Linked DNA regions of Homo sapiens: all the other regions are linked to region 2. Evidence: promoter capture Hi-C in human tissues and cell types (Jung and others, 2019). All regions are on one chromosome and are shown on one strand. Each heading gives the region's core, a stretch centred on a gene start or on the middle of the fragment in contact. The rest is flanking DNA. Distances are from core to core; before and after follow the strand shown.

Region 1 (7,295 bases), core at 4,322-6,821, 570 kb before region 2:
CATGCCCAGGTAATTTTTGTATTTTTAGTAGAGACAGGGTTTCACCATGTTGGGCAGGCTGGTCTTGAACTACTGACCTCATGATCTGCCTGCCTCAGCCTCCCAAAGTGCTCGATTACAGGCGTGAGCCACTGCGCCCATCTGGCCTTCCTTCCTTCCTTCCTTTCTCTCTCCTTCCTTCCTTCTTCCTTCCTTCTTCCTTCCTTCTTCCTTCCTTCCTTCTTTCCTTCCTCTCTCCTTCCTTCCTTCCTCCCTTCCTTCTTTCTTTCTTTCTTTCTTTCTTTCTTTCTTTCTTTCTTTCTTTCTTTCTTTCTTTCTTTCTTTCTTCCTTTCTTCTTTCTTTCCTTTTCTTCCTTTTTTGAGACAGGGCCTCACTCTGTTGCCAGGTTGGAGTGCAGTAGTGTGATTTTGGCTCACTGCAACCTTTGTCTCCTGGGCTCAAGTAATCCTCCTGTCTTAGCCTCCTGAGGAGCTGGGACTACGGGCATGCACCACCATGCCCAACTAATTTTTTAATTTTTTTGTAGAGATGGGCTTTTGCCATGTTGCCCAGGCTGGTCTCCAACTCCTGGGCTCAACCTATCCACCCACCTCAGCCTCCCAAGGGGCTGGGATTAAGGGCATGAGGCACTGCATCCAACTACTTTTATATTTTCTACGTTGTCTTTAATAGGTCAATAGAACTCTTATAATCAGGGGAAAATATCCCTTTAAGACAAAAAATAAATCCGTGTGATGGATTTAGGGAGATCCCATGTTTGTGTCTCTTGCCACCTTCGCTGTCTTTCTAACTCCTAGTCTCAGATCTTAACTGCACCTTTCAGTAATTTACCTACTCATCATCTGCCCTGTGACACCCCCTTGGCTATTCACCCCATCCTTCCTCTCAGCTCCCAACTGGGTCTGTGTTTCACTCAGCCCTGGGATGCACTGGACAGGCCATGGCTGTGACATCACAGGTTACATCTGCATGGAGCTAGGTGCATTCTGTTCAGGCAGTCACTGTGATCTGGCTGCCTGATTGATTCATTAGTCTAATGGCAACACATTGCTAGGATGCTAAGTTTTCTCTATTTCCCCAAAATGTTTTGAGGTTTTTCTCCTGACAACTGTGCTCATTGCAGTCATGGTGAAAACAACAAAATGGAAAGGAATTTCATAGGCCACACATCTCTAAATGATGTAGGGAAACATTTGGTTTCTTGTGGCTGTCAACACAATTATACCCACAGAGAAAGAAAATGAAAGGCAAGGCAGAGACAGCTCAATTTGGCTTGGAGAGTGGGGCGAAGACTTGGAAGCTTCATGCCTGGGCAGAGGGATGCCAAGACTTCTTGGGCTGCACAGAGGGCAGAGCGGCCACGAGATACAACAGTGGCAGCAGGTTGTAACACTGACGATGTGCAAATCCTTAGCCAAAGACCTGCCAACTCAACAAAGAGAGCTAAGCTAAGCCCCAGGGAAGGGACGAGGCAGCACGGGGCCTCCAAGGCTGAGCACCTGAAGAGAGCCACCCTCCTCTCCAGCACAGCTGACAATGGTTCCCTGGCCGCCCTTGCAGTTTTGTTTTTTTGTTCCTCTGTAGGGGCTCACAGGAAACAAGAGAACCAAACAACGTATGATTTTAGAAGAGGTAAAATTAAGTTTTCTGGAAGTTCCTTTGGACTATTGATTCCTAAATGGGAAGAAGGGATGCCCCCTTGGGGGAGTATTAGAGTCTTGGAGAGAGCTTTTCTCATCTACTTTCTATCCCCACCTCCCACACATTCTAATTTTGCTGCCTTAGGGAGAAGTGGGCCCCACTGCCAGCTACAGCTACTATTATTGGCGGAAGTGCATTAGTCATTCATTCAGCAACCAGTTAGTGAGCGTTAACCACGTGCAGGCACAGTCCTGGCCCTCAGGTGGACTGGGACGAGACAAAAACATTGGGAGCCCCTGTGGTCTAAACTCGGTGGCAAAGACCAGGTAAACGTTACAACTGAGGTTTTGTTTAACGAAGTTTTCTCTCTTTTTCTGATATTTGTTTTTTAAAAGGCAGAGGAAAAAATATGGAATTCCCACCATTGAATGAGAGCCTCCAACATGCCAGAAGCCATGCTGCTTACGTAATTCTAACAAGAATGTTAAGAGGTAGATGATCTCATGTGATTCTAACAAGAGTGTTTGGAAGTGGATATCCATTTCTCTGTCTCTTCCAGAGGAAAAAGCTAAGGCTCCGTAAAGGTCAATAACTTACTCAAGGTCAAGCAGTGAGTAAAAGACAGAAGCAGGATTGTAACACGGGGGTCTCTGATCCCAAAGCACGGGCAGCACCATCGCCATGCTTTGCACCTCCGGTGGACTGGCCACATCAACATTACTTGGCCGCTTGTTAGAAAGACACCTGCTGAATCATGATTTGCATGTTTAATAAGTATTGAGGTGATTCATTTACACATTCAAATTTGAGAAGCACTGAGCCAGGGAACTCATACCCCCAAACAATCTCACTCACAAACACAGGACATACCTTGGAAATCAAAAAGATTCATTACATGTCTCCATCCTGTCTTCAAGAGTGTTTCTGAAATGCTATAATACAGAAGATTCCCTCCCACCCAGAGTGAGAAAACACTGAAGTGGTAAAAATTTAAAAGGCCGGGTTGGGCTGGGCATGGTGGCTCATGCCTGTAATCCCAGCACTTTGGGAGGCTGAGGCAGGCGGATCACCTGAGGTCAGGAGTTCGAGACCAGCCTGGCCAACATGGTGAAACCCTGTCTCTACTAAAAATACGAAAATTAGCCAGGCGTGGTGGTGCACACCTGTAATCCCAGCTGCTCAGGAGGTTGAGGTAGGAGAATCGCTTGAACTCGGAAGGCAGAGGTTGCAGTGAGCTGAGACCACACAGCTGCACTCCAGCCTGGGCAACAAGACGGAAACTCTGTCTCAAAAAACAAAATTTAAAAAATTTAAAAAATTAAACGTCCAGGTTGCCTTCAGGGCATGCTGATGTGCCCTATAGTACCCTCGTGTGCTATTCAGGCTGCTTAGAGATTTGAGGGTCAGTGTGCGAGGGGAAGGGGAAATTTGTATTTACAAAATTGGTGGCTGAGGCTGAATGCTCAGTTCCACAGTGGAAGGAAGAGGGGGCCTGTTTTTAGGAAGGAAGTAGCAGCAGTTCTTTTTTTATTTTTCTCCTGAGACAAGGTCTCACTTTGTTGCCCAAGCTGAGTGCAATGGTGTGATCACAGCTCACTGCAGCCTCAACCTCCTGGACTCAAGTGGTCCTCCCACTTCAGGCTCCCAAGTAGCTAGGACTACAGGTGCACACCACCACACCTGGCTAATTTTTAATTTTTTTTTACAGACAGGGTCTCACTATGTTGCCCAGGCTCGTCTTGAGCTCCTGGATGCAAGCAATCCTCCCACTTCAGCCTCCCAAAGTGCTGGGATTACAGGCATGAGCCACCATGCCCAGCCCGCAATTTTAATATAATTGGTCAAACGTCCTTTTTCCCTTCCCTTCTCAGAGGTGCCAGTGCAGAGCTGCTGGCTTCGTGTGGGTCTAAAACCGCTCAGCTCAATTCTGGAGTTCAAAGACACCATTAATTAACTCAGAAATCATTGACACGAGGCTACTCCCAGGTTATGCTAATCTGGTGAAATCTGTAAACCCTATAACCTTACAGGAAGTCAGAGCTGCCACTGGCCCACTCAGCAGCACCTTTGTGCCAGTGAGCAAAAGGTGCTCCTCGCCCCCCCGCCCCCCAACCAGGTAGATGCAGCCCCAAACCATGTTGTTGGAATTGGTGCTGTGGTTCGAATGTGTCCGCTCCAAAATTCAGGTGTTGCTAGTGTGATAGAATTAAGAGAGATGGGGCCTTTAAGAGGTGATTAGGCCATGAGGGGTCCTCCCTTGTGAATGGGATTAAGGCTCTTACTAAAGAGGCTTCACACAGCCTTCAGCTCCCTTGCTCTTCCGCCTTTGCCATGTGAGGACACAGCGTTGCCCCCCACCCTGCCCGGAGGATGCAACAATAAGGTGCCATCTTAAACACAGAGACCAGCCCTCACCAGACAACGGAACCTGCAGGCTCCTAGAACCTCCCAGCCTCCAGAACGTCCAGAGAATGAATTTCTGTTATTTATGAGACACCCAGTCTCAGGTATCATAGTAGCGTTAATCAACTAAGACTTGGTGAATGGACTACAGAGTGGATTTTTGTCACCTGCGCATTTCCACACCCTCAAGGGCACCAATATCGCATGAGAAGCCCCTGTTGCAAGTGGGCCTGTGGCATTCCACCTTTTAAAAAGGTAAAGGGACCCTGAATAAATACATAAGTCATTTAAGGCTTGACAAACAGCTCTTGGAACAAGGGCATGAAAACAGGTGATTCTCAGGGTGATGTGTGGGGTTGAAGAGAGACCCACGGAATCAAGAAAGAAAGAGCCAGGCCAGGCTTGGTGGCTCATGCCTGTAACCCCAGCACTTTGGGAAACTGAGGCAGGCAGCTCACCTGAGAAAGGGAGTTCAAGACCACCCTGGTCAACATGGTGAAAACTAAAAAAAAAAAAAAATTAGCCAGGAGTGGTAGTGGGCACCTGTAATCCCAGCTACACAGGAGGCTCAGGCTGGAGAATAGCTTGAACCTGGGAGGTGGAGGTTGTAGGGAGCCGAGATTGCACCACTGCACTCTCAAGCCTGGGCGACAGAATGAGACTGCATCTCAAAAAAAAAAAAAAAAAAAAAAAGTAAGAACTAGAAGAATCGAGTCAGCTAAGGTCCTATTTTCCAAGGCTCTTCCCCATGTCTAAGAAAATTAATGAAAGACACACCTTTTTGCAAAAACCATAAACTATATGACTTGTGCATGACAAAAAGATGGAGTCCATCCTGCAAATATTTCAGAACTTCCTAGCTAGGTGGGGGTTTGGGGAGCAAAGAAGCTCACAGATGTGTGTTCTTGCCAAGCATATTGCACACAGGTGCTAGGGATGGCCAAGCCCTCAGGGGCTTGAGATACTTGGCCAGTGTTTCCCAAAATGTGTTCCATGGAACTATAATCCCATCCATTGCTTCTTAAAAACAGGTGCAACTGTCAAAAGATATAAACTTCTTTGGGATGTTTACAATGAACATTATTGAGCATTCTTGCCCATTTCCTTTGTTTAATTCAGCATTTTCCAAACATTTGACCCCAGACACACCCTGTCCCCACACCTGCTCTTTAACATGTTACCATCCACCAATGCTAGTTAGTTCCCTACGATGTGGATTTTGATTCTGTGGAGAATCTGGGGAATAAGCTTATTCCTTCTTGGGTTCAAATTAGAGACGTCCGCTGTTCACGGAGCTCCACACTGAATTTCCTTCTCCCTTTGAGAACGTTCATCACTTAAAGTCTACTCTTTCAGTGTTTTGATAGCACATCTCACATGTTTTTTTCCCTTGAAAGCCCAGTACAATTTGATGGTGACCGTCCTTTTTTTTTTTTTTTTTTTGAAACGGAGTCTCGCTCAGTCGCCCAGGCTGAAGTGCAATGGTGCGATCTCAGCTCACTGCAACCTCCGCCTCCCGGGTTCAAGTGATTCTACCGCCTCAGCCTCCTGAGTAGCTGGGATTACAGGCGCCCACCACCACGCCTGGCTCGTTTTTGTGTTTTTGTAGAGATGGGGTTTCACCATATTGGCCAGGCTGGTCCTCAACTCCTGACCTCAGGTGATCCTCCCACCTCGGCCTCCCAAAGTGCTGGGATTACAGGTGTGAGCCACTGCGCCCGGCCATATTTTAAAAGAGGATAGAGGACGCCATCTAGGGTCACCTGCCATTCTCTTGTTCTCAGGCTAGGAGTGACCCATGTTCTTTGAACTCTTCACCACTTTTCTTTGTGACTGTACTGAGCTCCAGGGTGTCAGAGCTGCAGAGCCTGAGTTCTGCCTGGGGTCTTGCTCAAATCCCTCCTACCTCTAGGAACCCAGAAGCCCCACCCAAAGTGACCCTACATGACTTGGGGTGGGGTGTGCCAGGAGTCAGCCCTCTCAGGAGCCACATACCCATTGTTGATGGGAGGCGACATTTTCTTTTGTTCCCCAACCCCCCTGCCAGGAGCCATGCCCCTCTCTTGAGATTTTCTCTGAGTTGGAGACTGAAGCAGAGAGTTGAGGACCTCAGAGGACAGAGGGTGTCTCTGGCTGCCGGAGCAAGCTGAGCCATATTAACATTCCCATTGGGTGTCAGGAGGGTGGGATCCACTCAGGTCCATGTTGCAAGGAAGTTTCTCCATCACCCCCTGCCCCATCTCCCTTCAAGGCTGGAGTGCAGTGACTATTCACAGGCATGATTGTAATGTACTATGTAGCCATGAAGTCCTCCTCTCCACCTCTCCCACCCAGCTCCATCCCAAGAAGCTTCGTCTCTCCCAAGCTGACCCCTTCACCAGGGCCACCAGGCCTGCTGGGAGGACTCTGGCACTGACAGGTGCCTGCCGCTCACAGGGCCTGTCTGCCACCGCACTGTGATGGCTGGGGAGGGTGAGGGTAGAGGGCAGAGGACTTCTTGCCTCACAGGTGCTCCCACAGGTTCGATGTCCTTTGCTGAGGTCATCTCCCTCCTGTGATTTAATGAGGCTGAAGTCAGAGAAAACCCAAAGATGCCAGAGGGGCCGCCTCCTCCCAAAACCCGCCAATGCCTCCTTTTTCAGAGAGGATTTTCTTCCCTTCTCTCCTCCCTTTAAAAAAAAAAAAAAAAAAAAAAAATATATATATATACATATATATATACACATATATATACACACACTATATATACACACACTATATATACACACATATATATACATATGTGTGTATATGTGTGTATATATATGTGTGTGTATGTATATATATATATATATATAGATATATAAAGAAATGCATGTACATAGTTTAAAAAATCAAGTAGCCCTATAAGGTTTATTCTAAAAATAGCCCTACTCACTGGTGCTGATCCCTTGTCCCAGAGGCAGCCACCTTCAACTCTTTTAGCTTTATCTTGATGTTTCAGCTTTAAGCATCATATAATCGACTACCTGCTATAGAAAATGAGGATTTAGTTCTTAGGCACAGGCACACACACGTTTATCTTATCTCACCACCCCAAGATCACAGGTTCTAGTTAAACCAATATTCAGTGTTTACTGTCCTATGACTTGGGAAAATATTATATGCCACTGACTACCCAATGCACTGTGATTGCGTTTTTTGGTACAATTTCATTTTTCTCAGAGTTAGTAATTTTGATGGGTTTTTATATTTTCAATGTAGTTGCTAA
Region 2 (7,067 bases), core at 3,344-5,843:
AGCTGTCTGCAGAGGGCCAGTTCCAGAACCTCCTGCTGTGTGTGAAGCTGCGGCTTTGACTCCCACCCCTAAGACATACCTGGTCCTGGACCCTTTATAGGCAACTCAGCTTCAAACCACTGGCTATGGGACCTTCTTCATTCCAAGAGCCTGGCTGTCATGTTTCCCCGTCTTGTCTTTGAGCAGGGAGATGGTGCAGTTCTGTGTGTGTGTCGAGTGTGTATATGTGAATATGTGCGTTGGCTTCCTACACCTGCTGTCTCAGCCAACTTGACGGAGGTCTCTTGCAGCTGCAAGCCTTGGGCAAGCCACATAATCACTCTGTTTCTCAATTTACCCATCAGGAAAATGGTATCACAATGGTACCCATATCGCAGGGTGGCTGTGAGGCTTTAATGCTATTTAAGATATGCAACTGGCCGGGCACGGTGGCTCAGGCCTGTAATCCTAGCACTCTGGGAAGCCGAGGCAGGAGGATCACCTGAGGGTCAGGAGTTTGAGACCAGCCTGGCCAACATGGTGAAACCCCATCTCTACTAAAAATACAATATTAGCCGGGCGTGGTGGCAGGCGCCTGTAATCCCAGCTATTCAGGAGGCTGAGGCAGGCGAATCACTTGAACCTGGGAGGTGGAGGTTGCAGTGAGCCAATATCGCGCCACTGCACTTCAGCCTGGGAGACAAAGTGAGATTCCGTCTCGAAAAACAAACAAACAAAAAAAAAACCCACACCACCAAACCTTGTTTAGCCTCTCGTTCCGTTATCTAGAACAGCCATGTCAGACCAGAAGGGCACACCCCAGAACTCAAAACCATGCTTTTCCCTGGGTGAGGAGTAAGGGGTGGTTCTAGTTTTGGTTGTGTGTTTGTGTGTATACATTTTCTGCAATCAGCAGGAGTCACTTTTATGATTACAGGGAAAAGGGCAATCAATACTTAAAACAGCAGGCACCTGCTTATCTCTTTAAGCGCTGAGAGCCAGCTAGTGTTCAATAAAAGCTTCAGGACATGCTTGGCATGAGCTGACATTTTTGTAGTGGTTAGGGTGGCTTGAAGGAGGAGGGAGGAGGGCAGCCATGGAGAGCGGTGTTTCCTGTACTGCATGTGTTTGAGGGGGCAGGGGGAGCAGTTTTAGATTCACAGAAAAATTGAGCAGAAGGTGCAGAGATTTCCTATATACTCCCCACTCCCCCACATGCACAGCCTCCCCGATTTTCAACATCCCGCACCAGAGAGCAGGTAAGAGAATGAATCCAGAGTAGACAGTGGTCACTCTTAGGAGTACTGCCTTGCCTGGCTCTGGGAAACCCAAACTCCGAGGGCTCCAAGCCTCCACCCAACTCTCCACCTACCCCCACCCCCCAATTCAGCAACAACGTTTTTTTGTTTTTTTTTTTTTTTTTGGAGACAGGGTCTCGCTCTGTTACCCAGGCTGTAGCGCAGCGGCGCGATTTCTCTTCAATGCAACCTCTGCCTCCCAAGCTCAAGCAATCCTCCCATCTCAGCCTCCCCAGTAGCTGGGACCACAGGCCTATGCCACCACACTCAGCTAGTTTTTATTTTTTTCTTTTTTTGCAGACAGAAAAAAAAGTGCAGTGGCACGATCTCAGCTCATTGCAACCTCTGCCTCCTGGGTTCAAGTTCTCCTGCCTCAGCCTCCTGAGTAGCTGTGATTACAGGCGCATGCCAACATGCTCGGCTTATTTATTTACTTATTTATTTATTTATTTTTGCCCAGGCTGCAGTGCAGTGGCGTGATCTCGGCTCACTGCAATCTCCGCCTCCCAGGTTCAAGCGATTCTCCTGCCTCAGCCTCCCGAGTAGCTGGGATTACAGGCGCCCGCCACTGTGCTCAGCTAATTTTTTGTATTTTTAGTAGAGACGGGGTTTCACTATGTTGGCCAGGCTAGTCTTGAACTCCTGACCTCGTGAGTCGCCTGCCTCAGCCTCCCAGAGTGCCGGGATTACAGGCGTGAGCCACCGTGCCCGGCCAATTTTTGTATTTTTAGTAGAGATGGAGTTTCACCATGTTGGCCAGGCTGGTCTCGAACTCCTGACCTCAAGTGATCCGCCTGCCTCGGCCTCCCAGAGTGCTGGGATTACAGGCGTGAACCACTGCACCCGGCTGACTCATGCTTCTTTAAGGACACTCTTCGGCTGGGCACAGAGGCTCACACCTGTAATCCCAGCACTTTGGGAGGCTGAGGCAGGTGAATAGGAGTTCGAGACCAGCCTGGGCAACATGGCAAAACCCTGTCTCTATACTAAAAATACAAAAATTAGTCGGGCCTGGTGGCAGGTGCCTGTAGTCCCAGCTACTCGGGGAGGCTGAGGCAGGATAATTGCTTGAACTCGGGAGGCGGAGGTTGCGGTAAGCCAAGATTATGCCACTGCACTCCAGCCTGGGCAACAGAGCAAGATTCCGTCTCAAAACGAACAAAAAAAACCCATAAAAGTCACTCTTCTTCACAATATGGGGAGTTGGGGACCAGCTAGAGGTTTGGGGCTGGCCCTCTGCTTGGTGGTGGTTGGGATGGTCCCATAGGGGAGCCACTGTGGCCCAGAGGCCTGAGCCGTGTGGGCCCGGGCCTTGTTTACTGGACTGTGGGCTTCCTGGGTGCTGGGCCTGCTCCCAGGGAGTGGCTCCTTCCCAAAGCGTCCCTTTGCCTTGGGAGCGGAACCACGCAATAGCCTGACTGGCCCTGGCAGCCCATGCCTTGTGGCCAGTCACCAGAGAGGGCACACGAGACCCAGGCCAGGGGTATCAGGGACAGCCCCTGGTCAGACTCTGCTAGTTTCCCTGCCTTTCGCTACGTGGCTGGACCACAGGGGAAGAAATGGCAAGAAACCGTGTCTAACTCTCCCTTGATACAAATTCAAAGTTGGCTTGGGGGATGGCCACCTTTGGGACACACACCTGGACAGATCTAAGCCAGCAGCGTGGCTGTTTGCTAGGCACTGTTCTGTGCCTGGGGCTTAATTTACAGAGGTACGGCTGAATGACCATGAGGAGAGGCCAAAGCCATCGCAAGATTGATCGCATTTCCTGAGAGAAGGGGCACCCATGCCATGCACGGTTCTCAGTAGAGAACCCCAGGTTTGGTCAGGAGGCAGAAGCAGGGGCGAGGGGAGAGCCCAGGCCTGAGGCTTTCTTGGGGTTTCCATGGAAAAGGCCTGGCAGGGCAGGGAAAGAGTTTAAAATTGGCTAGTTTGAGTAATTCTAGCAGGCTCTGGGCTGCAGAGTGGTCTCTAGTCACCTGATACCTGGCCCTGGGTGACTTAGGGCAGGGAGAATCTTGCCTCCAAAGGCGAGAATTAGATAAGGAGGTAGCTGGGGCTGTAGACTTGGGGTCTTTTTTTTTTTTTTTTTTTTTTTTGAGACAGAGTCTCACTCTTTCCCCCAGGCCGGAGTGCAGTAGCGTGATCTTGGCTCACTGCAAGCTCCACCTCCCGGGTTCACACCATTCTCCTGCCTCAGCCTCCCGAGTAGCTGGGACCACAGGCGCCCGCCACCATGCCCGGCTAATTTTTTGTATTTTTAGTAGAGACGGGGTTTCACCATGTTAGCCAGGATGGTCTCGATCTCCTGACCTCGTGATCCACCCGCCTCGGCCTCCCAAAGTGCTGGGATTACAGGTGTGAGCCACCGCGTCCGCCCGGGGTTGTCTGTTTTGTATATGAAAAGCATGCTCTGCCCCGAGCCTTAGCTATCTCTCTCTCTTTTTTATTTTTGAGACGGAGTCTTGCTCTGTGGCCCAGGCTGGAGTGCAGTGGCACCATCTCGGCTCACTGCAACCTCCACCTCCCGGGTTCAAGCGATTCTCCTGCCTCAGCCTCCCAAGTAGCTGGGATTACAGGCGCCCGCCACCACGCCCAGCTGATTTGTTGCATTTTTAGTAGAGGCGGGGTTTCACCGTGTTCGCCAGGATGGTCTCGATCTCCTGACCTCGTGATCTACCCGCCTCAGCCTCCAAAAGTGTTGGGATTACAGGCGTGAGCCACCGCGCCCGGCTGGAAATCCATAATTTCAATGGATCAGAATTTGCCTGTCACGTTCTCTGTGCCAGGCACGGAGCGGGGGGGCGGCAGGGATGGAACCCGGCACATGGGCCTCTGCCTCCTTGGCGCGCTGTAGGCGCGAGCCTAAAGTCATCAGGCGACAGCCCCCGCCACGTTCCGGGGCGCCCCGACGGCTCCAGCAGCGGGTGGGGTGGGAGGCGTCCGGACAGTCCGGAGGCCTCGATGGCCAAGAGGAGCCTGGGCTGGAGGGGGCCAGGCCCGGGGGCGGCCGGGGGAGGGCCCGGGACTGGCGCAGAGGCAGCGCGAGGCAGAGGCAAGCACTCGGACGAAGGCGCAGCCCCAGCCTCGGGGTGCGGAACGGGCACCTTCCGGGCCACTTGAGTCTGAGACCTTGTAGCCGGCTCGAGGCCCGGGCGCAGCAGTCCCTGCCAGCCAGCTTTCGGCGCAATGGGACGCGGGCGCTCCTGGTGTGCCGGCCTCGGGCCCTGCACCCTCACGCATGCGCGGCCCCCCCCCCCCCGGTGGACTACAACTCCCGGCGTGCCCCGCGCGCCTCCCGGAAGTGATCGCTCCGGTTGCCTCCGACCTCGGCGCTGGGCGGGCGCGCCGGGCCTGGGGAAGGGGCGGGCGCGGGGACCCGATGCGCGGGAGCGGAGGCCGAGATGGCTTCGGCGGGAGGCGAAGACTGCGAGAGCCCCGCGCCGGAGGCCGACCGTCCGCACCAGCGGCCCTTCCTGATAGGGGTGAGCGGCGGCACTGCCAGCGGGAAGGTAAGGGGCCGAGCGGGCCGGGGTCTCGCCTCTCGCCGGTGCCTACGGGCGGCCCGGTCCAGAGAGGAGACCCCAGCCCCGGCCGAGGGGCCCCCTGCCAGGCAGGGGCAGGGCGCGGGAGCGAAGGGGCTGCAGGCCGCGATGGGCCGGGGCGGGCTGGGGCGGGCGAGGGGTTGGGGCGCTGGGCCTCGGGGCTCCCCCACAGCCTCTCCGCCGGCCGGGCTCCTCGGAGCCCCAAGTCCGTGCTAACCCCGTTGGGCCCCCGCGGCCCTTCCGCTGAGACCATCCACACCTGTTGGTGTCCTCCCGCCTTCCGAGCATACCCCCCAGGGGGCGGGTGGGTCAGTGTCTCCAGAAGCCGGCCCCGTGCCTGTCACAGGACGAGCGGTTCCAGGCGGGAATCCCGCTTCTGTGTCTCCAGTCGACCGTGTGTGAGAAGATCATGGAGTTGCTGGGACAGAACGAGGTGGAACAGCGGCAGCGGAAGGTGGTCATCCTGAGCCAGGACAGGTTCTACAAGGTCCTGACGGCAGAGCAGAAGGCCAAGGCCTTGAAAGGACAGTACAATTTTGACCATCCAGGTAAATCGCGAGCCCAACGATGTGGGGAGGGCAGACCCCATTCTGGGCGGCCGCTAACCAGCTGCGCTTGGGCCCAAGGTTGGATGGATGCAGACCCGCTTGGGCTGTTCCCCCAACTCGCCACGCAGCCTGCAGTGGAGTTGGCTGCACAGTGAAGTCAGGGGAACTTTGCTGAGTTCTCTGGGCCCTGAGTGTCCCCCCAGGAGCGTGGTTGGAGCCAGTCAGGAAGCCTGTTGCACTGTGGGGAGCCCTGCCCTGCCCTGCCACAACTGTGATCCTGGAGAAATCCTCCCATCTTCCCTTCCCACGTTGGGGCCTTTAGGGCCCTCCACACACACCTCTGCCCACTGTGCCCTCCCGTGCTTTGGGGCAAAGTCCTCAGAGAGGCCAGTGTGGGAGGCGGTAGGTAAACTAGTGCTGGTGGCTTGAAGCTCCGGGCCAGGTAAACGGGCAGATGCGGCAGGGAGACACCTGCCACTGCTAGAAGATTCCACCCTGGCTGGCTGGCATGGTCAGCCTTTTCCCAAGGACTTGTGGGAAGAAGGCCTGCAAAGCCGCAGTCTAACCAGTTAGTCCCAGAAAGAGAGAGAAGCAGAGGCCCAGCCTACCCACCTCCCAGGAAGAGCTGATCAGAAAACCCCTGTGTTCCGGCATCTCAGGGGCACAGAGCTTGGGCAGTGGCACAGCCCGAGAACAGCAAGGACAGGGTCATCCTGTGGTCTGCAGGGCTGCAGAGGGCACTGTTGCTACCAAACATACACTGCCGTAGTCCTAGTCTACCTGTGCTAGGGTTCTCGGTGTCCCCAGCACCCAGCTGTGCTGACCCCAGAGCAGAGAGGGTTCCCTGCTGTCCGCTGCACGAGGGCATCTGCCTGTCTTGCCTTTGTCTCCAACCCTGCAGATGCCTTTGATAATGATTTGATGCACAGGACTCTGAAGAACATCGTGGAGGGCAAAACGGTGGAGGTGCCGACCTATGATTTTGTGACACACTCAAGGTAAGCAGGTGGTTCTAGGGAGGGCCGAGGAGAGGGGCCAGCTAGGACGTCCCCTCGGGCTCACACAGACCTGCCTGGCGGCAGGCCTCCCCCGGTTGGTTTCTGTGGGTCCCCCACCCCTTCCCACAGTCAGTGTCCCTGCAATGGAAGCTGACTGTGTGTGTGGCCTGGAGACCCTGTGTCTGCAGCAGAGCCCCTTTCCCCGTGCGCCCCTCAGGTTACCAGAGACCACGGTGGTCTACCCTGCGGACGTGGTTCTGTTTGAGGGCATCTTGGTGTTCTACAGCCAGGAGATCCGGGACATGTTCCACCTGCGCCTCTTCGTGGACACCGACTCCGACGTCAGGCTGTCTCGAAGAGGTAAGGCGGCCGCGGGCCTCCGTGCCTGCCTGGCCGAGGCTGGCGGCAGGTCCTGAGGTCTGAAGCACGCCTGCCCCTTGCCGCTGCAGTTCTCCGGGACGTGCGCCGAGGGAGGGACCTGGAGCAGATTCTGACGCAGTACACCACCTTCGTGAAGCCGGCCTTCGAGGAGTTCTGCCTGCCGGTACCTGTGCTCGCTGCTTCAGAGCCCATTTTCCCCTTTCACAAGGACACATGGGACCCAGTACTGTGAGAGGGCTTAGTGCTGGGTGACAGTGATCTGATTGAAAAAAAGGAGAAGAATTTGGCTCATTATGGCCACATACCCTGGGAGTAGTT
Region 3 (6,795 bases), core at 4,117-6,616, 760 kb before region 2:
ATTCAGGGCACTAAAGTGAAGATGTGAAATTATTTCATTTTATTTAACCTTAACACTTATTTTTCATATCACTTGTGTTGAGTGGTATAGTTATGGCTTTGTATTTGATGACCTTTCCAAGCTCATATGTCTTGTCTTCCCTACCAAATTTAGTTTTCCTTAAGGATACCTAACAGTGCCTTTTAACAGGATTTGATTTAGCAGACTCCAAATACAGTGGCTTTTAAATATAACAGAAGTTTACTTCTTTTTTTTAAAAATCAAAAACCCAGAGGTGGGCAGTTCAGAACTGGTACCAGAGTCACTGGTATGGCTACTCTGCCTTAGAGAGTCCTTGGAGACCCAGCCTCCATCTGGTTGCTTCACCATGTGTGGCCTCCATTCTCGAGTGCACCTGCGGTCAGGATAGCTGCTCCAGCTCCAGCAAGTGTGAGGAAAAGATGAAGAAGGGGCAGAGGGAACATACTAGCTATGTTACAAGGAAAGTTTCTAGGTCCTGCCAATAGCGCCTCTGCTTATTTCCTTTCGGCCACACCGAGGTATAAGAGAGGCTGGAACATGTCATCTTTATTCTGAGGAATCACACACATTTTCCTTTGTATCACATATGTATTACCTACACGTAGAATTCATTTGCTCTTAAAACATACAATACATTGTCAGTCTCTGATTTACTTTTTTCCACTTGCCTTTACATTTGTGAGATTGATTTTGTGAATAGCTGCAGTCACTCATATTAACTGCTATAGGGTGTTTCATTGAAGGTGTGCAACATTTATTCATTGATAATTTAGTTTCTTTTCAATTTTTTATTTCAAACTTGAGCATTACAAAACTTTATTAAAACATGGGTATCTAGCATATGTATATCTAGAATTGAAAATGTGGGGGTTCAAGAGTTTGTACATCTTCAGTTTTCTAGGTAGTGCCAAATTCTTCTTGAAAGTGATTGTACCAGTTAGCTCCTGAGAGCAGTCCCTGTGCAGTGTACAGTTGGTAGTTTTAATTTAACTTTCCCTGGTGGCGTGAGCTTAAGCTGCTTTTCAGGTGTATGTTGACTGCACAGCCGGGCCAGGACTAAGGTGAGGCAAACGAGGTGTCTAGGTTGGATATTTATTTATTTATTTATTTATTTTTGAGACGGAGTCTCACCCTGTCGCCCAGGCTGGAGTGCAGTGGCGCGATCTCGGCTCACTGCAAGCTCCGCCTCTCAGGTTCACGCCATTCTCCTGCCTCAGCCTCCCGAGTAGCTGGGACTATAGGCGCCCGCCACAACACCCGGCTAATTTTTTGTATTTTTTTAGTAGAGACGGGGTTTCACCGTGTTAGCCAGGATGGTCTCGATCTCCTGACCTCGTGATCTGCCTGCCTCGGCCTCCCAAAGTGCTGGGGTTACAGGCATGAGCCACCACGTCCAGCCTTATTTTTTTTTTAATTAGCAGGCTGGGCACAGTGGCGCACGCTTATAATCCCAGCACTTTGGGAGGCCAAGGTGGATGGATCACCTGAGGTCAGGAGTTTGAGACCAGCCTGACCAACATGGTGAAACTCTGTCCCTACTAAAAATACAAATTAGCTGCACGTCGTGGCACGGGTCTGTAATCTCAGCTTCTCGGGAGGCTGAGGCGGGAGAATCACTTGAACCCGGGAAGTGGAGGTTGCAGTGAGCCGAGATCGCGCCCTTGAACTCCAGCCTGGGCAACAAGAGTGAAACTGCCTCTAAATAAATAAATAAATAAGAGAGCAAATGATATCCTCTCTGAGTACAGAGACCTTTTTTTCTTTTTCAGTACTTTCATTTTCACTATTTCCTGTGGTCCTGGGTCTCCTTTAAGGAAATGACTTGAACGTCTCTCCATTAAGTATAATGCTTCTGGGTTTTGTGTATACCCGTTACCAGGTTAAAGAGTTGCTTTCTCATTAGTGTTTTTGTTATGAATGGGTGTTGAATTTTATTGCATGCTTCAAATGGTAATGAAAATTTTCTTTAATCTGTTAATATGGTAAATTATAGTATTTTTCTGATGTTAAAATATCTTTGATTCTTAGGGAATAAGGACACCTTGGTGTCTTGTATTAGTTTTTAATACACTGCTAGATTGCTAATGTTTTATTTAGGACTTTGAAATTAATGTTCATAAATGAGGCCAGCCTGTAATTTTTGTTACACTGTATTTGTCTAGTTTTAGTATTGAAGTTACACAGGCTTTAAAAAATGAGTTGGGGCCAGGTGCGGTGGCTGACGCCTGTAATTCCAGCACTTTGGGAGGCAGAGGCGGGCAGATCACCAGGTCAGGAGATCGAAACCATCCTGGCTAACACGGTGAAACCCAGTCTCTACTGAAAACACAAAAAATTAGCCAGGTGTGGTGGCGGGTGCCTGTAGTACTGTAGTCCTAGCTACTCGGGAGGCTGAGGCAGGAGAATGGGGTGAACCCGGGAGGCGGAGCTTGCAGTGAGCTGAGATCGCGCCACTGCACTCCAGCCTGGGTGACAGAGCGAGACTCTTGTCTCAAAAAAAAAAAAAAAAAAAAATGAGTTGGGAACTTTTTTGTTATTCTTTGGAATGTTTTGTATAAGACAGCTTGTCTATTTCTTGAAGGCTAATTTGTTATTAGTATTGTATTTGTTGTCTTTATTTGTTGTCTTTTTTTTAACAGAATAAGTAAATTTCTATTTGCTGTTTAAATGTCATTAATGATTATAAGTCTAATCATGTTTTCTTTTTTTTTTTTTTTTTTTTTTGTACCCCAGCTCAGGCTGGGGTACATTGGCATGATCATGGCTCAGTGCAGCCTTGCCCTCCTGGGCTCAAGTGATCTTCCTGCCTCAGCCTCCCAAGTAGCTGGATCTGCAGGTTTGCCATCACACTGGGTTAATTTTTAAATTTTTGTTGTAGAGACAGGGTCTCCTCGTGTTGCCCAGGCTGGCTTCAAGCAATGCTCTTGCCTCAGCCTCCCAAGGTGCTGGGATTACAGGCATGAGACACTGCCCCTGACCACGTTTGCTGTATTATATATTTATTCCCTAAATGCACATGTGACACAGGCTTAGGGGTAGGAAAGTATAAGGAGAAAATTTATTTTTTGTAAGCCAGAAAAAATAAATTATTTTAAAATTATTTTATCTAAATCAGTAATTAATAGATGGAATTAAATTTAATTAAATCACTTGATTAATAGTTTATATTTTAATTAAAATCATTTTTCCTGGCCCAGCTGAGCCTAAGCCAAGATAATTACACTTGTTTTTAATTCTTCCACCTCTTTCAGGCCCCTCTACTTTCTTGTGGGCATTAGCAAGCTCCCATTGTAGAAATTTATATGTTTTTATTGGAATGGTAGCTTTAGCAATGTCAAACTCAATAGAATTTTAAAGTCTGTTCATTTTACTGAATGTAAATTATACCTCAAGAATGTTAAAGAACAAAACAGACACCCAGGCACCTAGACACTGCCCAGCCTTGCTCCCTTACGGGTGCCACAACAGCTCAGGGGCTTTCAAATCTGGTTTTCAGCTCTCTCTCTGTTTTTGGCCTCTAGGGATTTCTCTTAACATTCCCCTGAGCTTACCCAGCAGTGTAAAGGATATCTGTTATAATTTGCGGAACATTTCTGGGTGCTTATAGTAGGTGGGTTTCCAGGTAATCTCATCTACCTTTCTAGTGGAAACGTAAGTGAATTAAGAAATTTTCAGGCCGGGCGAGGTGGCTCACTCCTGTAATCCCAGCACTTTGGGAGGCCAAGGCAGGTGGATCACGAGGTCAGGAGATCAACACCATCCTGGCTAACACAGTGAAACCCCATCTCTACTAAAAATACAAAAAATTAGCTGGGCGTGGTGGGGGGCGCCTGTAGTCGCAGCTATTCGGAAGGCTGAGGCAGGAGAATGGCGTGAACCCGGGAGGCGGAGCTTGCAGAGAGCCGAGATTGCGCCATTGCACTCCAGCCTAGGAGACAGAGCAAGACTCCGTCTCAAAAAAAAAAAAAAAAAAAAAAAAAGGTTTTCAAACCCTCAAGTAAATGTTGACCTTAAATTTAGGAAAATGAGCTGAACTGGGATAAAAAATATGCTGTAGATAACTAAAAATAAGCCATTCATTTTTCATATAATCATTGTATTTATTATGTGCCCACCACTCTTCTAGGTGGTGATCAAAACCCTATTCTTTTGGGGCTTAACATTTAAAGGATGGAGATAGACAGTAAACAAATAACTGTGACGTGTCCAATTAGAATAAATGCTGACAAACTCTACATGATTGCATAATTTAGCCCAGTGATATAGTGGGGAATATTTATTTATTTATTTATTTATTTATGAAACTGGTCTTGCCTCCCCTGCTCAAGCAATACCCCCATCTCTGCCTTCCAAGTAGCTGGGACCACAGGGGGAGGCCACCACGCCTGGCTAATTTTTGTCAATTTTGATAGAGGTGGAGTTTCATCATGTTGCCCAGGCTGGTCTCAGACTCCTGGATTCAAGCGATCTGCCTACCTTGGCCTCCCAAAGTGCTAGGATTACAGCCCTGAGCCGCTGCACCTGGCTGTAGTGGTGAATTTTTTTTTTTTTTTTTTTTTTTTTTTGAGACGGAGTCTCGCTCTGTCTCCCAGGCCAGAGTACAGTGGCGCGATTTCAGCTCACCGCAACCTCCACCTTCTGGGTTCAAGCAGTTCTCCTGCCTCAGCCTCCCGAGTAGCTAGGATTACAGGCATGTGCCACTACGTCCAGCTAATTTTTGTATTTTTAGTAGAGATGGCGTTTCACCATGTTGGCCAGGCTGGTCTCAAACCCCTGACCTCGTGATCCACCTGCCTTGGCCTCCCAGAGTGCTGGGATTACAGGTGTGAGCCACTGTGCCCAGCCTTGTAATGGAGAATTTTTAAATAAAATAATAACACGTGGGAAAAAAAATAAAGACGAATAAAGGTGTTTTTTTGTTTGTTTTTTTGAGACGGAGTCTTGCTCTGTCACCCAGGCTGGAGTGCAGTGGTGCAATCTTTGGCTTACTGCAACTTCCACCTCCTGGGTTCAGGCAACTTTCCAGCCTCAGCCTCCTGAGTAGCTGAGATTACAGGTGTGTGCCACCATGCCTGGCTAATTTTTTTATTTTTAGTAGAAATGGGGTTTTGCCATGTTGGCCAGGCTCGTCTCAAACTCCTTACCTCAAGTGATTTGCCCACTTATATCTCCCAAAGTGCTGGGATTATAGGCGTGAGCCATTGTGCCTGGTCAGAAAAAAGATTTTAAAAAACCCAATAGAAGAAATTATAATAAAAGAAAAAAACAAAAACATTAAAACCAAAAGGACAAGAAGAAAGCAATGTGTTAACCTGAGATTAAAATGTGGTTAGTAAACAGGCAGGTTAAATTGGTTTTTATAGTTCTTGCAATTATTATATCCAAGAATTTCTATCATCTTGTGTCCCTTAGTTTCTAGAGTATCAAGGTGATGTGGAACATAGTTTTAAAAGCTTTATTCTGAGTATTCTGCAAAAGAAGGCTCGATGGTCAAATAAGATTCTGTTCTGAAAATTACATATTAATATATAACATATAAAAGTTTTTGAAATATTCTGCAGTTAAGAGTGTTGGGGATCAGCCTCAATACCACCCGTAGGGTACCCGAAGTGCAGTGGTGACAAAGAAATGAGAAGAGACAGGTTAAGAGTTCATAAAGGAGGGAACCAGGGGGCCAGAGCAAATCAGAGGCTGCAAAGGCTCCAAGCTATGATCTCCACACTATTTATTGAAATAAATAGTGAAATGGTGAAAGGAGAGCCGTGTGTCATACACCTAATGTATAGGAATGGCGGTTTAGGTAAATTTTCTTTGTGCTGAAGCAGTATAAACTTAACTACTGATTTATTTTTTAACTTATCAGAGAGCAGCTGTGGGGAGTGGGCCTAACTAGGAGCTGGCATATCTGGCCACATTCCAGTGCTTCAAAGGAGTATCTTTCTCCTTGAGCACAGTGTTTATAGATAGGAGAGCAGGTCACATTCTGGTCATGGGAACATGATGGCAATTAGAAGGCTTTACTCCTCAGAGGCCTCTTGTGGCTTTCTACAACTTACTGTTCCATATTTTTATGGCTGGTTTATGCAGGCACCCCACAAGCCCTTTCCCCAACATGAGAGAACTGCTTCGTTTATTTTATCTCATCATTTTTCTTGAAACTATTTTGCTATGGAATGTCCTACTGAACATAGTTTGAAAATGTTACTGTAATAGAATCTCAACTCTGTAGTGTACTGTTTAGATGGCCTTGCTAACCTTTATTAGGTAGAAATGATAACTACTTGCCTTATAGGATTGTTAGGAACAATATCTGAAATAATGTATAAGAAGTTTGTGGTGTAGTCCCTGGTGTCTGGTTAATTGGAAGTTCATGTTTGCTCCCTTCTCTGATTATTAACATATTTACTTAGAAATATAGATACTATGTATAGAGACAGGATTGATCAGCAGTGTCCTTATTAGTCCTTAACTGTGATTCTTATCAACAGGAAACTGTGGAGATATAAATTTAGTACGACTGGGTCCAGAAAAGTCTATTAATAGTGAGGTTCTAAAGTTCAGTTTGGACAGCCAAGTAAACCACAGAATGAGTAAGTACTGAATGTGGTATATACTAGTGTTTTCTCTGTTTTGTTTGGTGGAAAATGACTTGGGCACTAAAGGTAATTTGAAGCCTCCAGAATTAGTCTGGCTTTGGGAACTAATTTTCCTTCTCATTGTGTTGTATATGTGTGTGAGTTTGTTAGAATTAGAATAGCATATAATTTTTTATTT
Region 4 (7,545 bases), core at 2,116-4,615, 700 kb before region 2:
GCCTCCCCCTGGTCCTGGCCCGGCTTCTGACTCGCTGCTCCTGGAAGCACATGGTTTCATACCAAGGACCACCACCACCATGTCCTGCCGCCTCCTGCACCCCACCCCTACGTGGTTCTCAGGCTGACCCCTGCCTAACCAGCTCCGCTCCAAGGACCAGACAAGCCCGTGACTGCCTGGGGCAAGGCTCTCAGGGATTGGAGGTGAATCCCACATTGTCAATGGAGGATTTGGTGAGGAAGGTCACCATCCCTAAGAATGGGGGGGCATCCCTTGATGTTCCTACGAAGGGACACAGTACTCACCCACCCACCCACCCTCCAGCAAGAAAGCCAATGTGGCTGCCCCCGAACAAGGAAGGACAACGGCCACCCTCTTGAAACACCATCTGTGTATCTCTAGAGGACCCAGCTTCCCTTTTGTGATGGGATGAGGGACTGACCCAGTGGTCAAGGGCATGGGAGACTAGAGAAACAGCCTGTGCCCAGGAGAGATGGTGGGCACTCCCACCTGTGGGCCACCTAGTCCTGCCCCCTTCACTTTGTCCCTCCAGAGATAATGAGGAGATGAGGCATCCTCTAAGTGTCCCAAAGAGCAGCATCGGTGACCCGTGTGTCCCAGATTCTGCTTCAACCAACACGAGCCCCAGGGCCACACCTCCCAGGGGAGCCGGGATGGGCTATTTCTGGCATCTGCTCTGCCTGCTGTGTGGCCTGCCCACTGTGCCCAAGTTGGCTTCTGACTCATACCTGCTCCCAGCTCCCTTGGGGAGGGAGGCCTGTAGGGAAGAGAGACTCAGTTTAACCTTGACCCAGCTACTCCAGGAGGGTTTTCGGAGCCAGGCATCGGTCCTCTATCCTGCACCGTCTTTTTCCAGCGGCGGATGGGGAACAGGTGTCAGGGAGGGCTGATGGGGCCCCAGGTCCATCCTCTTACCTTGGAATTCTTCAATAGGCATCACTTGAGGAGATTTGGGCTTGAGCTGGAAAAGTTTGTAGCCCTTGGCAGGGGCAGGGGCAGCGGCAGGGGTGCCCACAGCTTGGAGAGATGAGAAACAGGTTCTTTCGTCTGTCATGGTCCCACTGCCCAGGGAAGAGCCCAGCAAAGGCTTCCGAGCCGCCCTGGGCCAGCTCTAGGGCAGGCAGCCTTGTCGCCTGCTCAGATGTGAGGGAGGGAGAGGCCCCTCTGGCCTCAAATCACACAGCCCCTCTCCTCGAAGAGCCCAGGGAGGTGGGGCCCCTTCCTGAAGGAAACACAGCACATCCCAAGCTTGCAAATCAGCCCTGCCCTTGGTCCCCTCTCTGAGACCATGGACACATCTGGCTGGATTAATCCTCCAAATGACTTCTGTAACCCCTGACACCCCCGCGCCCTGCTAAGACCTTCTTGGAAGCCAAACTGTTTTTAGATAGATTGACATCACATTGCACACCACGCCCGTCTCTTGCTCTCCCCACCGCCTCTCCAAACTTCCTGGAGCATCAAACCCAGAGACTAAACTTGGCATTTAAGGACTTTGGCATCTCCCTTCCTTTCTGAAACACTCTTCCTGCTCCAGCCGAAGTGAATCCTTCGCTGTCCCTGGAGTCCCACTCGCAAGTGCTGTCAAGCCAGGAACACGGACGGCACCTGCCTTCCACTGCCCAGAATCCCGCTGGGACCCCAACGCCCTATCTGTGGGTGAGCAGGCCACTGTCCCGGGATCGTCACTACCTTGGCTTCCCTCTGGGGGTCTGTGGTGCCCTGGTTGGCCCAGGGTAGGGAAGCGATGGCTCCCGCCAGCTCTGTCTCCATCACCACAGAGGACACCAGGCCCAGGTCCTCCAGGTTTCTAGGAACCGAGCCTCAGACCCTCTCTAAACATGCTTCCAGCGCCAGAGCTTCCTGCCAGTAGAGGGCGCTCAAAGCCCTGCTCGCTGCTCAGAGCTGGGGCTGGAGGAAATTTGAACATGTGAGCTGGAAGGAACAGCTCACCTGTTCCCTAGACCTCAGGCCCTAATTCCCCACCCAGGCTTGGTGAGCTGGGGCCAGGGACAATTTCCCTTCTGGAGAGTCGGGCAGGCCTGCGCGTTTCCTTGGCATGTCTGTCTATGGCTACAGATGAGCCCTGTGTCTCCTCCCACGTAGCAGGAGGATGTCAGTGTCTTCCAGGACCCCGCCCTCCCTCCTTTAACCCACACATTTTCCACTTTGTCAGGCTCCCTGCCATCCCACTGCCAAGCCTTTGCCCCGGCTGGCCCTGCGGCCTGGAATGTGCTGCCTTCTCCCTTCACCCACCACAGTCCACCCTCCGAGGTCTCATGGCCCCCGCTCCTGCAGGAAGCCCCCTCTGACTCTCTGATCCAGCAACTGCCCAGGTGTCCTGTGAGCAAGGGCAGCTGGAGAGGGGGGTTCCTGTCGTGGGAGGCGGGGCCTCTACCAGACTCCGAAGCCCTCGGAGGGAGTGCTGGTGGAAGGGCTTGGCGTGGGGGTGCCACATGGAACCTCTTGAAGCAGGTGAGCTTGGGGGCAGAGCTGGTAGACCTGCTCTACCAGGCCGCTCCCTCACCACTGTGCCCTAGAGCTCCCCAGGCACCGACATTCTACACCCGTGCCCTCAGTTGGTTCCTGCGGCCCCCCTCCAACCTCAGGTCCCCACCATGCACACCTGCTACTTCCACTACAGAGGGAGGGGCCTACGAGTCTAAGAGGGCGCTTCCCCGGGGTCTCAGGCCCATCACAGGCCTTGCCCCCCCATACCTTCTGCACGGGAGGCCACCTGGGACCACCTGCTCGAGAGAGGGGCAGCCGTAGATGGCCTGGTCCACTCTTGGGGGGAAGAAGAGAAGAAACCAAGTTATGCGAGGGGGTGGTGCTGAGGGAAGCTGGGTACATACTGAGGCATCACAGCCCCGCACCCCACAGGCCCCTTAGAAGCAGCAGCACTATAAGGAGAGGCTCTGTCTACACTGGCCAAAGGAATTGGGTCCAAATCTACTACATAGGCAGCATCTACACTATTTCAGCCTGTGGAGGGCACATGCAGACTTAAAGCCCGATAGATGAGAGGTGAACCCATGCCTGAGAATCTGCATATTCTTCAGCGAGACCCTTCTACACTCCCTGTGCCGTCCCCGTTCTGACTGAAGGACAGAGCTAGACCAGGTCCCGCCTCTGGGCCCAGACCTCTCTGAGCTGATGTCTCTGGCTAATGGCTGCGAAGTGGGACATGTGTTCCGGCCAAGATCTTACATGTGTCCAGAAGTGTCCTGGAAGGTGTCCTTCCTGTCCAGCCGCAATCCAGGGACCGGAGCCTTCCCCAGCATCTGACCTGCTTCCCTGATCACTGCCCTTCTACCTTCCTGACCCCTGGCCTGGCCCATTTTCACCAGGGACCCCAGCATGAACCAGTGACACAACGCTCAGCCCGTAGACTAACGGGACACACAGCCAGCAAGGCAGGCAGGCAGGGCTGGCAAAGAACTGCCCTGTGCCCAAATTTCAAAGGACAAACCCAGAGGGACAGGGGAGCGCTGCTGTTTTCCGCTTCTTGAAGGGATTATACACAACGGTGGCTGTGGGGAAAGAAAAGGAAAAGCTACCAGCTAACAAGTGCGGAAGACTTTCCAGCTGGGAGCGGGGAGCTTTGGACATGAATTGACTTTAATATGATGTTCAGTGGGAAGATGAGGCCGCCAGGCCCAAATTGGCAAGGGCTTAATTAGAGCCATGAGAAAGCCAGCCCTGAAGGCATTTGCTTCAGAGCCTGTCTCCCTCCATCCTCCGTGGCCCAGCCCAGGAAAGGATTAGTGTCTCCAGCGGCGTTTTCCGCCCGCAGCGCTGTCCTCCAGACAGCTTGACATTGGCAGGCGGGAGAAACATCTGGCCCAGGAGTTCAGAGGCCCAGCTGGACTCTGTTCAAAGAGCCCGAAGCACCTGTTGGGAGGCACTCGGGGGTATTCAGGATCTTTCAGGGACCAGGGTCTTGGGGAGGGAGAGAGTCCTGGCTTGGCTGCCCAGGGACACACTCAGGTGTGTGGGAAGCAAGTTCTCGCCATGGCCTGTGTGCTGTGCCAAGGCCCCATGGAAGCCCGGTCTGCTCCTTTGGAACTGGGAAGCCCTGCAAGCCAGGCCTTGGAGACAGCACTACTTGGCCGGGTGCGGTGGCTCACGCCTGGAATCCCAGCACTTTGGGAGGCTGAGGCGGGTGGATCACTTGAGGTCAGGAGTTCAACACCAGCCTGACCAACATGGTGAAACCCTGTCTCTCTAAAAAGACAAAAAGTAGCTGAACATGGTGACAGGTGCCTGTAATCCCAGCTACTCGGGAGGCTGAGGCAGGAGAATTGCTTGAACCTGGGGGGGCGGAGGTTGCAGTGAGCTGAGATTGCTCCATTGCACTCCAGCCTCAGCGACAAGAGCGAAACTCCATCTCAAAAAAAAAAAAAAAAAAGATAGCTCTACCTCATAGCCCCTGGAGGCCTCAGGACAATAGCTTTGGGTGGCTGAGTTGGCGAGCCCTGAGTTCAAATCCTGCCCGTGCCTCTCCATAATTCTGAGACCTTGAGCAGCTGCCCCTTTTTTCTTCTGAAACAGCTTGATTGAGGTGTAATTTACATATCATAAAATCCAGCTGCTTCTTCCTAAGCCTCGATCCCCTCACCTGTGGGACTAGGAAAATAACAGCCTCCATCTCACGGAGCTGTGAGCCCAGAATACAATGATATGATGATACAATGATACGAGCACAGCCCAGGAGAACTCACCCTCAGCTACTGCAATGATCGTTTTCATTAATGGGGGCTCTGGACAGGGGCTTCAGTTGCTGAAGAGGAGGGAGGAGCCCCTAGATGTGGGCTGTAGGGGCCACTGGCTGTCACATTGGAGCCACCTCCTCCCCTAATGTCCTGCTTCTTGATACAGGGCTGAGGGTGCAGAGCAGCACTGTCTTGCCGAGAGGGAGGGTGTGCCTTCTGCTCACTGAGGGGGTCCTGGGGACCCTCACCTCCCCTGCATTTCCCACTCTGGCCTCTGACTTTTCCTCTTTAATTCCCAACTTTGCACAATCTGCCCAGCCTCCCACGGCTGCCCTGGCACCAAGTCAGAAGCAGCTCTGCAAATGGATTCCTCTGTGTGTGTGTGTGTGTACATGTGCGTGTGCATGCCTGTGTGTGTGCATGCATGTGTGTGTGTGCATGTGTGCACTTGCACATGTGATATGGAGAGTATCTGGCCTCCCAGCCAAACCCCTGTTTGGAGACAGGCACAGCACCCACCACCACTGTTTTTGCTTCTGTCTGCCCACCACAGGCTCAGCAGCAAAGCACAGGTCCCTTGTGGCTGGGCCAACCTATGTCTGAAGTCCAGAATTCTCAGAGTGACCCATGTCTTCCACCCCAAAGAGGATTCCTGGGTCAGGAGGCTTCCCGGAAATCCTCCAATCTTTTGGCTAGCCCCTGCCTCCTGTAAATGCCTCCTGCAGAAAAGGAAGGATGTAGAAAGAGGTGGGGTGTGCTGCCCCCAGGGGAGCTGCTCTGGATGGCCTAGGAAGGAGGAGGTCTTTCTCTCAGCATTTGCCCCTGTCTGGGGAGCCTGAGTGTCCACCCAGCAACAGGCCGAGGCAGGAGCTGATGGAGGGGACTCTGCCCTTTAGAAATGCCACCCCCCAAGGGGGAAGGATCAGTGGGGCAGGTCTCCTTGGATCAGAGAGATGGAGGGCCAGGGCACTACCCAAGGGGCCAGGAGTCCCCACCAGGTCCTCCCTGCAGGGTGGCGGGGGACAGGGTGTGGCAGGCTATTGGAGCACCCCTCCCTGGCTGGGACCAGGAAGAATTCCCCTTGGTCATCGTCTTCCTGGTGCCCTCTGGGAAGGATAAATCCTTTCAGACCCCTGGCACCTGCACTGCACAGAGTGCAGGGATACTCCCCAGGTGAGTCCAGGTGAGAGCAGAGGCCCACTCCAGCACCCCCAGCCTTGAATACACGTGAATCCCTCCGTTGGAGGGGAGCGAGAATCAGGTTTCCATGCCTGTCTGTGGCAGACCCCTGAGGGGGCAGGACGTCTGGCCCTGGCCTGGCCTTGCACTACACACACAGCCTCCACATTCCCAGCAGCCCACGGTGTCCAAACTCAGCTCCAGAGGCTCCCTTTGCCCTGCTGATCAGAGACATTTGCTTTCTGGGCTAACCCTGCTCCATCCATCCCACCGGTGTGCTGCTGAGGGGCTAAGGACAGAGAGGCCCTGGGGGCCAGGTGGGGACAGGGTGTGGGCGGGGCTCCAGGGACCACGGAGGCAGAAGCACCATTGGGAGATAAGGCCAGTCTTTGGCTGCATGTCAGGATGGCCTCGCTGCCCCCAGCACCTTTCCTCTCAGTTCCTGCAGCCGTCTGGCCACAATGGTCTGGGAGCCCTTCCAAGCAATGGCTTGAAGGGCAGGAGGAAGACGACTTTGGAAGCTGAACTGATCCCTGAATCCCCTGGCTGGGCTCAGGAACAGGTTGACCCAGGTGTCCTCAAGCCCCTTTGGCCTGTGGCCTCCCAGCTCTAGGGTTCTAGCGTCTCTATTCTAAGAGCCAAGCCCCTGCTCTCTGCCCAGGGCTGCCGACCCTCCCACCCCAAGAGAGGCAGGGACCCAGGCTAGAAGCAGGAGAGGGTGGGATGACAGGGGTCGCTGTACCCTGGCACCCACCTGTGGGCTGTGGGGTGCTGGGCGCCATGGGGGCCCAGGCAGTGGACGTGGAGGGGACAGGAGTAGTAGGGGCCCCTGTCATGGCTGTGGTGGCCGCAGTGGCCACAGGGCCTTTGGGGTCGGGGTCTTTCTGGGACCTGCTGATGCCTGGTGAGAGATGGGAAAAGCAAGAGAGGGTTGGGGGGTTGCCGGGGTGGGGACACCACAGAGAAGCAACTTACGACGGCTGTGCAGACCAGCGTCCCTGCAGGGTCCAGCTTCTTTCTGGCGCCCTCTCGGCTCACTGGCTTCCCAGCCAGGGGCCCCCTGGGTCCGGGAGGGACAACTTGGGTGGGATGTGGGGCCCCACAGAGCCCTGGTGGAGGGTGACGGTGCACCCCAGAAGCATCTCTGAGATTTGGGGTCTGCTCCCGGCTGGCTCTTTGACATTGGCCAGTCCTCTCCTGCTGCCTCGCAGAGCAGATGGCGACCTCCCAGGGGGAGGGGTTTGCAAGGCTGAAAGGAGAGACCGTGCCTGGCACCCTGTGAGTGTCTGGGGACAGTCTCGATGACATTTACTGATAACCTGTGGGCGCCATGTCGCCCTCGCCCTCCTGGGGAACTCTCAGGACCCCCACCTCCTGCAGATGCCCCTCCCTGGTCCGACTCCCCTGGGACCTGAGCTGACCTGGACGAGCAGAGCCCTGGGACAAGCTGGCTGCAGAGGCTGCCCAGAGGGAGGCTGCCCCCATGGTTAGGCTAGGGGGTGGATTCTGCCCCTGGTGGGGGAAGGTCACCCCACTCTTGACTGGCAGGAGAGACTGCTCTCCCAGATCCAGGTGAGAGAAGTGGCGTGGGTGGCAGGAGGAGCAGGGAGCCCACCCAGGGGCCAAGAGA

The links. The method cuts DNA at HindIII sites, captures the fragments that hold promoters and counts their contacts. A contact is called where the count stands out against the background at its distance.
Region 1: a fragment that was not itself captured here is called in contact with the fragment with the promoter of UCK1 in region 2 in 4 of the 25 tissues and cell types used here (IMR-90 fibroblasts, adrenal gland, dorsolateral prefrontal cortex and 1 more).
Region 3: a fragment that was not itself captured here is called in contact with the fragment with the promoter of UCK1 in region 2 in 3 of the 25 tissues and cell types used here (IMR-90 fibroblasts, aorta and hippocampus).
Region 4: a fragment that was not itself captured here is called in contact with the fragment with the promoter of UCK1 in region 2 in 1 of the 25 tissues and cell types used here (spleen).

What each region holds. Positions count from the first base shown.
Region 1 is chr9:132,103,474-132,110,768 of GRCh38, reverse strand. It overlaps LOC105376302 (a long non-coding RNA gene), which reads right to left. Exons shown (of 3, transcript XR_930403.1): 2 at 6,963-7,056; 3 at 6,187-6,597. Among named protein-coding and RNA genes, the nearest start is that of MED27, 27 kb to the right of the region's middle. The HindIII fragment of the contact is 4,547 bases long and covers 3,298-7,295 here.
Region 2 is chr9:131,528,789-131,535,855 of GRCh38, reverse strand. It overlaps UCK1 (uridine-cytidine kinase 1), which reads left to right and starts at 4,593. Exons shown (of 7, transcript NM_031432.5): 1 at 4,593-4,789; 2 at 5,211-5,370; 3 at 6,272-6,368; 4 at 6,586-6,728; 5 at 6,818-6,912. The coding sequence starts at 4,682. RefSeq lists silencers at 4,188-4,357, 4,498-4,857, 5,058-5,107 and enhancers at 4,523-5,436, 6,142-7,067. The HindIII fragment of the contact is 11,870 bases long and covers 1-7,067 here.
Region 3 is chr9:132,288,366-132,295,160 of GRCh38, reverse strand. It overlaps SETX (senataxin), which reads left to right. Exons shown (of 26, transcript NM_015046.7): 16 at 6,510-6,611. Among named protein-coding and RNA genes, the nearest start is that of SETX, 63 kb to the left of the region's middle. The HindIII fragment of the contact is 5,333 bases long and covers 2,700-6,795 here.
Region 4 is chr9:132,230,914-132,238,458 of GRCh38, reverse strand. The region is part of intron 5 of NTNG2 (netrin G2); the gene reads right to left. Among named protein-coding and RNA genes, the nearest start is that of NTNG2, 73 kb to the right of the region's middle. The HindIII fragment of the contact is 6,849 bases long and covers 1-6,789 here.